Regions from separate parts of the Homo sapiens genome. Here region 1 is linked to region 2. Evidence: promoter capture Hi-C in 16 types of primary human blood cells and fetal thymus (Javierre and others, 2016). All regions are on one chromosome and are shown on one strand. Each heading gives the region's core, a stretch centred on a gene start or on the middle of the fragment in contact. The rest is flanking DNA. Distances are from core to core; before and after follow the strand shown. Region 1 holds the start of PPM1F (protein phosphatase, Mg2+/Mn2+ dependent 1F). Region 2 holds the start of LRRC74B (leucine rich repeat containing 74B).

Region 1 (7,060 bases), core at 557-3,056, 910 kb before region 2:
GCTTTCTCTGCCCAGACACCTCCTGCCTTGCAGACCCAACCCCACCCCAGATGGTTTCCTTTCCAGTCACCCAGCTGCTAGTTCTCCAGGTTCCTGGTCTCACTCCAGGTTCCTCCTGTTAGAGAAGCATCCCAGAGACATTCATTCCTGGCAAGGACACAGGCCTGCGGACCTGAAGGTCAGGTGGGCAGAGCCACATAAGATCTGGTGCCCCATCCTCCATTTAAAAAATTATACTTTCCAACGGCATTGGTATAAAGGTGAATATATTAATATCATATATTAAAACATTTTCTTTGACATAAAGGTTTCTTTCTTCTGCCTTTAAAATAAAATATTTTGGCCAGGTGTAATGGTTCACACCTATAATCCCAGCACTTGGGAAGGCTGAGGCAGGAGGATCACTTGAGCCCAAGAGTTCAAGACCAGCCTGGGCAACATAGAGACCCTGTCTCTACAAATTTTTTTTAATCAGCTGGGCGTGGTGGTGCTTGCCTGTGTTCCCAGACACTAGGAAGGCTGAGGCAGGAGGGGAGGGTCACTTGAGCCCAGGAGTTTGAGGCTGCAGTGAGCTGTGATCATGCCACTGCACTCCAGTGTGGGCACCAGAGAAGGAGCTTGTCTCTAAAAAGAGAGAAAAAGAATATTTTCAAGAGCCTCTGTGTTGGCAGAAAAATGGCCCTTCAGAGATGTTCATGTCCTATACCTGTGCCTGTGTTAGATTACATGGCAGACCCGGCATAGTGGCTCACGCCTGTACTGTAATCCCAGCACTTTGGGAGGCCGAGGCAGGCAGATCATTTGAGGTCAGGAGTTTGAGACCAGCCTGACCAACATGGTGAAACCCCATCTCTACTAAAAATACAAAAAAAATTAGCCGGGCATGGTGGTGCGTGCCTGCAGTCCCAGCTACTCGGGAGGCTGAGGCAGGAAAATCGCTTGAACCAGGGAGGCAGAGGTTGCAGTGAGTCGAGGTCATGCCACTGCAGTACAGCCTGGGTGACAGGGTGAGACTCCGTGTCAAAAAAAAATAATAATAATAATAAGGGGCAAAGGGGAATTAAGGTTGCTAATCAACTGATTTAGAGAGATGATGCTGGACTATCTGGGTGGGCCCAATGGCATCAGGAGGGTCTTTAGAAGTAGCAGAAGGAAGCAGAGGAGGGAACCAGAGGTGGCAGTGTGAGAAAGGCTCAACTGGCCATTGCTGGCTTCGAGGCTGTAGGAAGGGGCCACGAGCCAAGGTATGCAGGGAGCCCTTAGGAGCTGGAAAAGGCAGGGGAACAGTTTCTCCCCTAGAATCCTCAGAAAGGAACGCATTCTGGCGATCCCTGGATCTTCGCCCACTGAGGCTAAGTGGACTTCTGACCTCCAGAACGGAAAGATAACAAAAGCCTCAACGTTTGTGGAAACAAACAACTCATAATGAGCCTGGGACTGTGCCTCCTTCCCGGACGGATGAGCCTGCCTGGGCAGTCTGGGTTTGCATCCCTGCTCTGTCACTTACCAGCTATTGACGGCAGAAGTTGCTTAATTTCTGGGCGCTGTGACCTAGGGATTGCTTTCCCCATCCAGCCGCCCACCCAAAGCTGCAGAAGAGAAGCAAGAGGCTGGTGACTGGGGCGGCTCCGGAGCCCAGGTGGAGCCGCAGTTCGCCTACCACTAAAGGGCCGCAGTCACCGTCCACGTAGCCGCCAGGGGGCAGCAGAGGTCCGGCCCCGCCAGCCTGGAGGCCCGACTGCGCCTGCGCGGCGCCCGCGGCGCCCGCGGCGGCCAGGGACGGGAAGTGGGCGGGGCCGGCCGGCAGCAGCTTGCGGGACACGGAGCCGCGAGGAGACAGCTGAGGCCCGCGGAGACCAGGGGTGAGGAGGCCGGGGGGGACGGGATTAGAGGGCTGACGGGGCTGGGACGAGGGTCAGGCGAGCGCCCAAGGCGCACAGGGGTGAAATGGGACCGAGGAACCGGAGGGGTGGAATCAGAGGGCTGGGGAGGCAAGGAGGCCGAGACGAGGCTCACATGGGTGCACCGAAAGGGTGCGGGGGTGCAGTGCGGGGGGCCGAGGAGCAAGAGGGGCCGCTGCGGACATGAGGAACCCGAGGCTGGGAGTTGGGGGGCTGGGGAGCCAAGGGGGCAGAACTGGGGGGCAGGCGGGGGTGTGGCCGAGCCGAGGGCCTGGTAGGGACCGAGGGCTATGAGGCAGAATCGGGTGCTGAGGGGGACGCGCCCCATTTTCCGAGATTTGGCCTCTCCCCACCCCCCAGGAGCCTCTGGGCCGGCACGTTGCCCCATATCCCCCCAGTCCCTGCACCTTCAGGGGCCCAGTCTGCCTGATGGCCCCCGGCTCCGCGGCCTCCCAAGCGTCCGTGAAGCGAGCGTCAGCTGCACAAGTGCTCGGGCTGCAGCTGCTTCAGCCACAGGTCTGTGAGCCAGAGCCTCAGGCGCGGAGGCCGGGCACATTGCCGCTGGGTTCGGTCAGGCAAGCCCCTGAACCTGTCTGTACAACAGGAAGAACTGGCTCCGGCTGCAGGGATTTCGGCACAGCGCTTGACACACAGTGAGGCCCACTGCATGGTGGCGGGCTCCTTCGAAGCCTTCCACCCTGCGGGACAGAGTCACACATGTCGTGGTGGCATTCCCCGGGACAAGTTCTCTGGGCCCAGCTGAGCTCTCACCACGGGGGATAGAAAGTGGGGCCGGCCAGCACTCTGAGGCCATCTCCAGTCTCTTCTGTTGTCAAATTTCGCTCTTTTCCTCCTGCACGCGAGGTGGAAATACCAAAGGCATTGGGCATCCAGAGACCTTGATTGAGTTCGCTTTGCCCTTTCACCTGTGTGAGACCTTAAATGGGTGCTTGCCCTCCTATAACCTATTTCTTCATCTGCAGTGTAGCCTGACAGTATGTACTTCTCAGCGTAGTTGTGAGAGGTAAACAAAACGAATGCATTTCTGAAAGCCATGAACCTCTACACAAGTTCATTTGTGGAATTCCTTTAAGATACCCCCTGAAGGCCGGGCGCGGTGGCTCATACCTGTAATCCCAGCACTTTGGGAGGCCGAGGCAGGCATATCACCTGAGGTCAAGAGTTCCAGACCAGCATGGCAAAATCCCATCTCTACTAAAAATACAAAAATTAGCCGCGCGTGGTGGCAGGTGCCTGTAATCCTAGCTACTCAGGAGGCTGAGGCAGGAGAATTGCTTGAACCTGGGAGGCGAAGGTTGCAGTGAGCTGAGATCCCACCATTGCACTCCAGCCTGGGCAACAAGAGCGAAACTCCCTCTCAAAAAAAAAAAAAAAAAAAAAAAGGATACCATCTGACCTGAAGCCAACCGAGTCTTTTAAGACCTGGCGCTGCTGCCCACTGCACCCTTCAGAGTGGTGTAGCTTCCTCAGCCCATGCCACCCGCCAGTCACTCTTCCCTCTGCCATCACACTTACCACCTGCTGTACACAAAGGGCCATCGTGGGCTCCCTGACTACAGGGAGCTTACAGTCTATCAAGAAAGTCAGGCCTGTAGAAAGAAATGGTCATTGCACAGCAATGTGACTATGCTTAATGCCATGGAACTGTACGCTTAGAAATGGTTAAAAGGATACATAGTGTGTATATTTTACAACAATAAAAAAAATTTATATATGTAGAAAAAAAATCTAGGATTTACATCTAACTATTATTAGTATTAGTAGTTATGAATAAAGAAATAAGAATCTCTTTTGGTAGAAAAAGGTTGGCCAGGCGTGGTGTCTCATACCTGTAATCACAGCACTTTGGGAGGCTGAGGCGGGCAGATCACCTGAGGTCAGGAGTTCGAGACCAGCCTGGCCAACATGGTGAAACCCCATCTCTACTAAAAATACAAAAAAATTAGCCAGGCGTGGTTGTGGGTGCCTGTAATCCCAGCTACTAGGGAGGCTTAGGCAGGAGAATCACTTGAACCTGAGAGGCGGAGGTTGCCGTGAGCCAAGATTGCGCCACTGCACTCCGGCCTGGGTGACAGAGCAAGACTCTGTCTCAAAAAAAACAAAAACAAAAAAAAACAGTTAACATGAATGATGCTTTTGTTACACTATAGTGGTGCAGTTCCCTTTTCTAAGGATTGCTGGGTTTTTTTCATTACCTTGGTTCTGCAGTTAAGCAAGACTCAACAAGTATTTTTTCTATGTCCCCTAAAAAACTGCAGTTGTTAAACCCTGCATTCGTTAAGCTTAGGAGTCAAAACTAATGCACTAGAGGAAAATAAATATTTTAAATTAAAAAAAAAAAAACTTTTTACAAGTCAGATGTGAGCAAAAGTGCCATAGAGACATGAAAGAGAGCATGCTGGATCCAAAGATGGGGAGATTTCAGCAAAGCCTCAAAGGATCTGAGAGATCTCGGGAGGCAAAATGGAAGGAGGGCACCACAAAACAAGGAGGGGAGGGGCTGCCCTAGGGTGGGGGGTACACAGAAATGGAAGGAGGAGCCATGAGAGAGCCAAAGCCCAGAGCTGGTGGCCAATGAGGGACAGGTCAGGGATAGAAGGAGTCAGAATGACTTCCCAGGTGTCATCACAGTTAAGGCCCAGGTTCCCCAGCATGAACCCCACCCTGGGACTTTGGGCAAGTTCCTTAGCTCTTCTGCTACAGCCTGCCCTGTGAAGTGGGGATAACCACAAGAGGTTGTTGGGAGGCTAAAAGCCATCCCAGGAAGAGTGCTCAGAGCAGGGGCGGATGGCAGCTGGCAGCACCGTCAGCCACACCCCTGCAGCTGCCCCCCGATGAGTTTGCTTTGCCATTTCTCACCTATGTGGGACCTTAAATAGGTTCTAGGAGGGTGAGCACCCATTTGGTGTGCAGTGGGGCCCTGATCCAGGAGGAACCAGCTGCCAGTCGCATTTGGTCAGACTGGTCCAGGCAGGCGGTGCTGGGATGCAGGAGTCCAATGTCCCTCCCATGCCCACCCCGGGCTCTTGGTGATTTGCACAGGCTCATGCACACGTCCCTCTTATTCGGAGTTTTTCACTGGTGTGCCCTGCTCAGGAAAGCCCAGCACCAGGCTCCGCTGCCTCTGGTGCTCTCCCAGCTCTCCCTACTCCCTGCGGCTTGCCGCTGGCCTCCATGCCATTCCTGATGCTGTCTCTTCCAGTTGATCCCTCAAAGAACCACAGCACTGTCCCCTGCCCCTCCAGGCACTCCCAGGGCTGCCTCTGGTTTCCCTTGGTGAGGAATTTCTCCTTCCTGCCGGGTGTGCCATGGTGTACGTCAGATTCAGGAGCTTATTGGGAAAAGGAAGGAAATGATTCCTGTCCCTTTCGACATCTGGGCTCCAGGGAGAGAAAGCTGTGTCCTGGTTTCTCTCCTCACCCCTTGCCTTAGGTTGGTGATGCAGAAACAAGGGTGCTTGGTCCCCAGCAAGTAAGATGGCCCTGGGCACCCTGCCTTTGTAACAAGAGCAGGCAGTTGGCACAGGCCCTGAGAGTAAGCCAGCCTGTCCCCTCTACAGATGCAGACAGAGCTTCACACACACACATCATCACACCCCCCAGACCTTACTTAGTACACATGGCACAGACACCATTGAGGCATGTGCAGATAGTGGGCACAAGGCACAGAGAGAGCAGGCAGGTGGCCACAGTGAATCAGGGTCTGTAGTGCAGACAGGAGGAGCCACCCTCCCTGAGGGAACAGGCCGATTGTGGGGAGGGGCTCACGGCACAGGAAAGAGTACCCCAAGGTCAGGAGGCAAGAAGGAGGCACCTGCATCCCAAAAGGTCCAGCAGACGTCACCAGCAAATGGGGTGGAAGTGAAGGGTCTTGAATTCTGCCCTTGACAGTGGGGCTTTACACTGTGGGCAGGGGTTTCTCCAGGGGGGCCCTCTGTGTGCTCTAGCGGGGAGCATGCTGTCCTCTCACTTGGATCCTAATCATAAATTCACATGAGCACATTTTGTGGTGAGACAGTAGAGCCTCCAGATCACTTGGAATTGCAAGGGAGTGGGAGGAGGCCCCAGGCACTGGCAGTTGCTGGGGGCAGCTCTGCATCGTTCACATTCTCCCAGAAGCTCCAGGGGCCAGGGCAGTCCCAGGCAGAAGAGGGGCCCTTGGCCGCTTGCACTGCTTGAGGGCAGCCAAGCTTGCTGGGAAATTCACGCCATCTTCGAATGCCTTACAGCTCTGCTGGGGCATGGCTGGCAGGACGTGCCGCCTCCTCATTGACCTACTAGGGCTCCCAGCCTCTGCTCATTTCTCCAGCTCACAGTCTTCCCTTTGTCGTTTGAATGTCAGTGTCCCTCCTGCTCTCAAAGTGATTTTTCCTTTTTTGCTTTATGTTCTTTTTTTTTCTTTTTTGGTAGAGATGGGGGGTGGGGGGGGGGTGGCGATCTCACTGCCCAGGCTGGTCTTGAACTCCTGGCCTCAAGCACTCCTCCTGCCTCACCCTCCCCAAGCGCTGAGATATAGACCTGAGCCACAGCGCCTTGCCAGTTGTTTTATGTTCTTTATCCTTTTACCTGCTTGCCTTCTGTAACCTGGGTTGCATTAAATTTACTCCTACTTGTGAGTAAATGTGAACCATAGCAATAAATTTAGTCTATCCCCAGAACCTTCAGTAGCAAGCACCCCTATTCCTACGTTATTTGTATGTGTCCACTTTAAATAAATTACCTTTCAATTCTGCCTCTAAAAGAAGAGAAGGGTTTTGTGTTTTGTTAATTTACCACCCTTCACCCCTTGCATTCCAAATCCCTCACTGATCAGACATTTAACTTGGTGCTGGGACCTTTCCCTCTGCCCACCCCATTCTCTTTTGTGTTTTTTATCTTTAGGCTTCCAGAAGGCTTGTTCCAAGTTAGCAATTCCTGATAAGGACAGCCCTCTTGTGGGCTGTGAGCTCCCTGCATCTCTTACTTCCCACTCTCTTCATCCTGCACCTCAGGCCCCTGCCACAGCCGCCCTTTTAGCAAAGTTTGTAGGCAGAGTCTGTGGCTATTCTAAGACTGATGATTCTAGAAGATTCTCCTTGCCTTCTTCGTTCAGTTTTCAGAACCTGGAAGTCCTCATGAAGGTGATGGGCTGTGAAACTG
Region 2 (6,933 bases), core at 118-2,617:
AGCCACCTGTGTCCTCCCCTGCCCTGTGTCACTACCTGGCCTATGTTTTGCCTCTAGAAGCACTGCTTCCTGTGCTTCTTGGGACCACTGCTCCCATATGACAGATGAGGACATCAAGCCTCAGGCAACGCAAATCTTTTCCTTAAAGTCATACGGCTATCAAAAGAAAGCTGGACAACCTGGGCAACATAGCTAGACAAATTTTCTTTTTTTTTTTTTCGAGACAGACTCTTGCTCTGTCACCCAGGCTGGAATGCAGTGGCACGATCTCGGCTCACTGAAACCTCTGCCTCCCAGGTTCAAGCAATTCTCCTGCCTCAGCCTCCCGAGTAGCTGGGATTACAGGCGCCCACCACCACACTGGGCTAGTTTTTTGTATTTTCAGTAGAGACGGGGTTTCACCATGTTGGCCAGGCTGGTCTCGAACTCCTGACCTCAGGTGATCTGCCTGCCTGGGCCTCCCAAAGTGCTGTGATTACAGGCGTGAGCCACCCCACCCAGCCAAAAAATTTTTATATTAGCCAGACGTGGTGGTCTCCTGTAGTCCCAGCTACTCAGGAGGCTGAGGCAGAAGGCTCACTAGAGTGCAGAGTTCAAGGCTGCAGTGAGCTATTATCCTGCCACTGCACTGACGCCCGGGTGACAGAGCAAGACCCTGGCTCTAATAAATAAATAATTTATTTATATATTTATTTATTAATAAATATGAGCCCAAGCAACCCAATGTTGTTTGTAGTAGAAGTCATGGCTGGCCTGCGCTGAGCATCCCACAGCTAGTGGTGGTAGCTAATCCTGCCAGAGTCAGGCCTCTGCCTGTCTGATGCCAAATTGCATGCTGTGTCTTTTAACCTGGATTGCAGGCCACAAATGTTTTGTAAACATTTTACGGGAGAAAAAACCGAGATAGTTCTAAATTCCATACATCCATTAGCTTAGTTTTTCCTGTGGATTGGGAAAACCCGGCTCTGATTTCATTTCAGGGTGGGACAGCCCTTGGTGCACTGTCTGGCGGGATTTTGCATTTTATCCTGATGCTTCCAGGAGCAATGAAGGGAAGGCAGGGGGCTGGAGGCGCCCCGCAGGCGGGTACGTTCCCTGCTGGCCTTAGCCCCAGCCCGCCTCCCCCAACCCCTGCGGGAGAAGACCCCCAAAGGGGAGGAGTCGGGCCTGCCCCCTCCCCCGAGCACCTTCCGTCTCCAGGTCGGAGTCCCAATTGGCCTCGGGACCCTGCTCGGCCTCGGGGACCCCTGAAAGACGCCCACAGGCCACCATAGCCTCTTCTTTCTGCTCTTCATCCTCCCCAGACCTCTCACAGGAACCCCTCATGGTTACGACCCTCTCGCAGTCTCAGACACTGAGTCGGAGACAGCTTGACCCCGCGCCCAGAGCGCGGCCCGGGATTGTGGGCGGAGTCTGCGGCTGCGCTGACCAACCGAATGTGCCGTCCAGCAACAGGCACCCCCCACAGCCAATAGCGACGCGCTCTCCCGCGGCGGTCGCCCCGGCAACCCGGTGTTGTCGGTTGCCGTAGAAACTGTGGCCGGCTTGTGCTGAGGCTCCTCGCCCGGGCTGATACACTGCATGCGCCACAGACCATGCACCGGATTGGGCGCCTTGCTGCGTTTATCCCCCTGCCTCCCCTAGGCGGTTCCAGCATCGCCCCCCTTTCATGGAATGGGAAACATGCCTGACTCCAGAGCTTGTGTTTTCTTCACTGCACTTGGGAATGGCTTTTCAGGAGGGCCTGGGGAACTTCGCAGAGCCAGGTCACCCTCTCACTCTGTGGCTCTCAGTTCTCTTGCATGCGCTGGCCTTTGCATACGCTGTTCGCTCCCCTGGGAACCTCCATCCCCATCTTTGTCTGCTTGTTGAACTTCAGAATCTGCAAGCGTCAGCTCAGAAGTCACTTATTCCTGAAGCTTTACTCAGAGCCCCCCCGGGGCTGTTGCTGCCCTCAGGCCGTCTTCTCACAGCACTGATAACAGCTGTCCTTCCCCATCCTCTCACCACGTCCACTCCCACCGGAGGAAGTGAGGCCAGAGGGCAGGGACAGAGCTGCTGTTTTCTGTGTGCCACCAGGGCCCAGCAAAGAGAATGTAGGGAGGGTGGGAGGTGCAGGGCAGCTGGGGTTAGGGGCTGAAGGCTGGGTGTTGGAGGCTGGATCCTGCTTTAGTGGAAGTGTCCCTTTAACAGCGGCTGGCGTGGCCTGGCTCGGGCCCTGCTTTGCCTCCTGTTCAGCTGCGGCTGCAGCTGCCATGCTGACTCATGTGCCCGCAGCTAGCAGGAGCTGGCAGCATGGGCTCCCCAGGGGCCACAGCAGACTAGGGGCTTCTGGATTATAAAACGGAGAAGTATGTGATGACCAGGAACTGGTGGGGGGGCGCCCTGCAGAGGCTGCTGCAGTTTGGGATCGTCGTCTATGTGGTAGGGTAAGAGAGAAGAGCTTTTGGCCAGGCTGGAGGGGCAAGGGAAGAGGTCGGGGGTGGGGCTTGGTCCTGCTGGGTTGAAGTTGAGGGTTGGGCTGTTTAGGGGCTGGAGGGGAAGGGGCCATAATGGGACGGGGTGGGAGGTAGGCAATACAAGACAGGAGAGCAAGAACAAGCTGTGTGTTTGTCCTGTGTGTCCACCTGCCTGCTTCCCAGTCCCTCCCCACGGCCCCACCCAGGGGGCACAAGACATTGTCCTTAACATCTGTGAGAGCTGGAGCACTAGGCCCCCAGAGAGACCACCAGCTATATCTCCGGTCAGGGGAGTCTATAAGCTCGGAGCTGGGTCTACTGAGGCTGGGGGTGGGTGCTGGCTAGTGAAGGTGATTGTCTGAGGGCACTGGCTCTCTGATGCATGGCTGGAGCTTCTGTCTCGTTCAGGGAGTCTACAGTGGGAAGTGGGGCCAGAGAGGATGCTGGACTGGGAGCCTGTAGGGTGTGGGGAGAGAACTGAGCATGTAGGGCCCAGCTCTGCCCCGTCACTACACGCTGGGGGGACACCACACTGCCCATCTTCTCCTTCCCAGGTGGGCGCTCCTCGCCAAAAAAGGCTACCAGGAGCGGGACCTGGAACCCCAGATTTCCATCACAACCAAACTCAAAGGGGTTTCCGTGACTCAGATCAAGGAGCTTGGAAACCGGCTGTGGGATGTGGCCGACTTCGTGAAGCCACCTCAGGTGGGGGCCCTGATGTTGCTGACGGGGGCGCAAGTCCTTTCCCCACTGACAGCTTGAACACCCGCCATGCAGCCAGTGTGTGCGAGAGAGAAGCATGTGATGCCAAAGGTGGCTGCAGGTTCTCAGGAAGGGCTTCACAGAGGAGTGGCACCTGAACAGGACTTTCAGGGATGTGTAGGAGGTTTCTGGTAGAAAAAGGGATGGGTTGAGAAACCAGGCCAGAGAAACTGCATTTCCGAAGGCTGCCAACAGAAAAGAAGGGAGTGTTTGAGACTAATGGCTTGAGCTTGAGAGTGGTGTGGGAGGGGTGTGGTGGGGCCAGGGCGTGGAACTTCCTGTAGCCCTGCTCCCTGACCTGGGGCACCTCGGTCAGGTGCTCCTCCTCCACCCTTCTCAGCTGCATTTTCCTCTTCCCTCCACCCAGCTTATCCACAGCCTTAACTTCCACCCACCTCTGCTCCTCTGATTCCCAGGGTGTATGTAGCCCCAGTGAACACCTGCCCAGAGCACAGCTGTCTTCCAGGTGCACACTCATATGTCCAAAGATCAATTATTTCCCTCTCCTGGCATGGCCTCTGTGACATCCACTAGTCATGATGGCTGTGACATCCACTAGTGCCTCAGCCAGACCCATGACTCAGCCTCAACCCCTTCCTGTCCCTTCCAACATTTTTCACTACTGCCCATGCCATGCCTGCATGAGACTATGGCCTCCTAGAAGGCCCTTAGATGCCCCTCTCGCCTCCTCCCTACTGCTTGGTGCACACCACACAGCAGCCAAGCTGAACTTTCACACCAGGCATCATGAGAGCCTGCAGCCCCTGTTTCTACCCTCAGGAGGCCCCCCGCCAATGATAGTGGCCACCCATCCCTCCTAATCCCAATGGCTGCCACTCTCAGCACCCTCTGCACAGCCCTCACCTTCCGTTCCTGGGCATGCATTCCCCAAATTCAGTGTTCTCATGGGCAGCACTGGAGGGTCAGCCTCCCCTTCCAACATCCTTGGCCACCCTTTGACCACAGGCAGAGCTTTCTGTCTTCTCACCTGTGCCCTGCCATGCCAGTGCTGCTGTGTGTGGGATGGGAGACTCACCTCCTCTCCATCCTGGCAGGTGCAGGGCCCAGCTCTCCCCTGGATCTTCAGTACTAGAAGCAGCAGGCTGTCGTAATATTCTGGTTGACGCCAGGCATGGTAGTTACAGCCTATAGTCCCAGCTACTTGGGAGGCTGAGGCAGGAAGATCTCTTGAGCCCAGGAGTTACAGGATGCAGTAAGGGTTGATGACACCACTGCACTCCAGCCTGGACGAGTAAAGTGAAACTCTGTGCGCCTGTAATCCCAGCTACTCAGGAGGCTGAGGCAGGAGAATCCTTTGAACCCAGGAGGCAGAGGTTGCAGTGAACCGAGTTCATGCCACTGCACTCCAGTCTGGGTGACAGTGAGACTCTGTCTCAAAAAAAAAAATAAAGAAGAAAGAAAATAAAAGATATTTTGGTTGAACAAATGAGAAAGAAACTTGTCTCAAGAGATGGACATGGGCATGAGGCTTCATGGTCTCAGAAATGGCCAGAACTGCTGCCAGCCTCCCATCTCTGCTTCAATCTGCCTTACGTGGGGACAGGGTTAATGATTTCATGGGGCCAACATCCCTTCCCTCATAAACCAGGCTGCCGGCTTCTGGCCTTTCCAGTCAATGCAAGCCCAGCCAGGCCAACTTTGAGACTTGCCTCCTAGGGAGAGAACGTGTTCTTCTTGGTGACCAACTTCCTTGTGACGCCAGCCCAAGATCAGGGCAGATGCCCAGAGGTGAGTTTGCCCAGGATACTCCCAGCGGGCCCCTCATTCCTCCATCAGCCCCAGGTGGCCACCCGTGTTTCCCTTTATCCTTCCCAGGTGGCTGAAGGCTCAGCATGTGCTTAGTGTCCCCCAGGCACTGGGCTACATCTTTGTGTGAATCATTTCGTTCAGTCTTCACATATCCCCTGCCTGGCAGGAATTCCTGTGATCCCCATTTCAGAGGCAAAGAGTGAGGCTCAGTGAGGTTGAATCACTTACTTAAGGCCTCCCAGGCTGTGGGTGACAGAAACCCGAGCTCTGGCTAGCAATGAGTCAGTCAAAAATAAAAATTAAAACAGTAAAAAATTATTTATAGCTGGGCACAGTGGCTCCCACCTGTAATCCCAGCACTTTGGGAGGCCAGGACAGGAGGTTGCTTGAGGCCCAGAATTTGAGACCAGCCTGGGCAACATAGCAAGACTCCACTCTACAAGAAAATTTTTCTAAAAATTTGCCAGGCATTGCCCCAGCTACTCAGGATACTGGGGCAAGAGGAGTTCAAGGCTGCAGTGAGCTACAGTCCCACTACTATACTTTAGCCTGGGCAATGGAGCAACACCCAGTCTCAAAAAATAATAATAATAACTTATTTACAAATTTTTTCCCACTTGCATTTATATAAGTTTAGTTTATTTAACAATTATATCTGAATTGTGAAAACTTCATGAAACATTAGACAAAGCTAGTTATTATCTTAAGTTTTATTTTGCTGGCAATTTTTATGACATATATATTAGGCAAATATCAAACATTATTGAAGTAAAGCACCTAAAATGTTAAACATTCAACACTTTTTTTAATCTCAGACTAGCATACTGGGGGTTGTTCTAGTTAATTCCTCAGATTCTTTTATTTTATTTTATTTTATTTTTTTGAGATGGAGCCTGGCTCTGTTGTACAGGCCGGAGTGCAATGGCATGATCTCAGCTCACTGCAACCTCCGCCTCCCGAGTGGTTCCAGTAATTCTCTCCTGCCTCAGCCTCCCAAGTAGCTGGGATTACAGGTGCATGCCACCACACCTGGCTAACTTTTTTAATATATATTTTTCATAGAGACAGGGTTTCATCATGTTGGCCAGGCTGGTTTCGAACTCCTGACCTCAAGCGATCCGCCCACCTTGACCTCCCAAAGTGCTAGGATTACAGGCATGAGCCACTGCACCCAGCCAATTCCTCAGATACTTAAGTTTTTTTTTGTTTTTGTTTTTGTTTTTTTTTTGAGATGGTGTCTTGTCCTGTCACCCAGGCTGGAGTGCAGTGGTGCAATCTCGGCTCACTGCAAGCTCCGCCTCCCGGGTTCACGCCATTCTGCTGTCTCAGCCTCCCCAGCAGATGGATAATTTTTATATATATATATTTTTAGTAGAGACAGGGTTTCACCATGTTGGCCAAGCTGGTTTCAAACTCCTGACCTCAAGCGATCTGCGCACCTTGACCTCCCAAAGTGCTAGGATTACAGGCGTGAGCTACTGTGCCCAGCCCAGTTCCTCAGATACTTAAGTTTGTGTTTTTTGTTTTTTGTTTTTTGTTTTTTTTGAGACAGAGTCTTGCTCTGTCACCCAGGTTGGAGTGCAGTGGCGCGATCTCGGCTCACTGCAAGCTCCGCCTCCCGGATTCACGCCATTCTGCTGTCTCAGCCTTCCCAGCAGATGGGACTACAGGCGCACGCCGCCACACCTGGCTAATTTTTTTGTATTTTTAGTAGAGACGGGGTTTCACCGTGTTAGCCAGGATGGTCTCGATCTCCTGACCTCGTGATCCGCCTGCCTCAGCCTCCCAAAGTGCTGGGATTACAGGCTTGAGCCACTGTGCCTGGCCCTTAAGTTTTAAAGATATGATAAGACTGGCGACAGAGCAAGAAAACTGAGAAAGAATGTAGATTTTCTCCAAGGAGTTTCAGAGCATATTTTTTGTTATCAGAGATCTAGGGTAA

The links. The method cuts DNA at HindIII sites, captures the fragments that hold promoters and counts their contacts. A CHiCAGO score of 5 or more calls a contact.
Region 1: the fragment with the promoter of PPM1F here is called in contact with the fragment with the promoter of LRRC74B in region 2 in 2 of 17 cell types (M2 macrophages and M0 macrophages); the score reaches 7.3 in M2 macrophages.

The regions. Positions count from the first base shown.
Region 1 is chr22:21,947,594-21,954,653 of GRCh38, reverse strand. PPM1F (protein phosphatase, Mg2+/Mn2+ dependent 1F) reads left to right here and starts at 1,806. Exons shown (of 8, transcript NM_014634.4): 1 at 1,806-1,862. RefSeq lists a silencer at 1,614-2,023 and enhancers at 2,017-2,537, 2,584-2,653. The HindIII fragment of the contact is 22,373 bases long and covers 1-4,206 here.
Region 2 is chr22:21,040,380-21,047,312 of GRCh38, reverse strand. It overlaps LRRC74B (leucine rich repeat containing 74B), which reads right to left and starts at 1,367. Exons shown (of 10, transcript NM_001291006.2): 1 at 1,188-1,367. The coding sequence starts at 1,326. It also overlaps the pseudogene P2RX6P. RefSeq lists a silencer at 5,808-6,036. The HindIII fragment of the contact is 8,622 bases long and covers 1-1,921 here.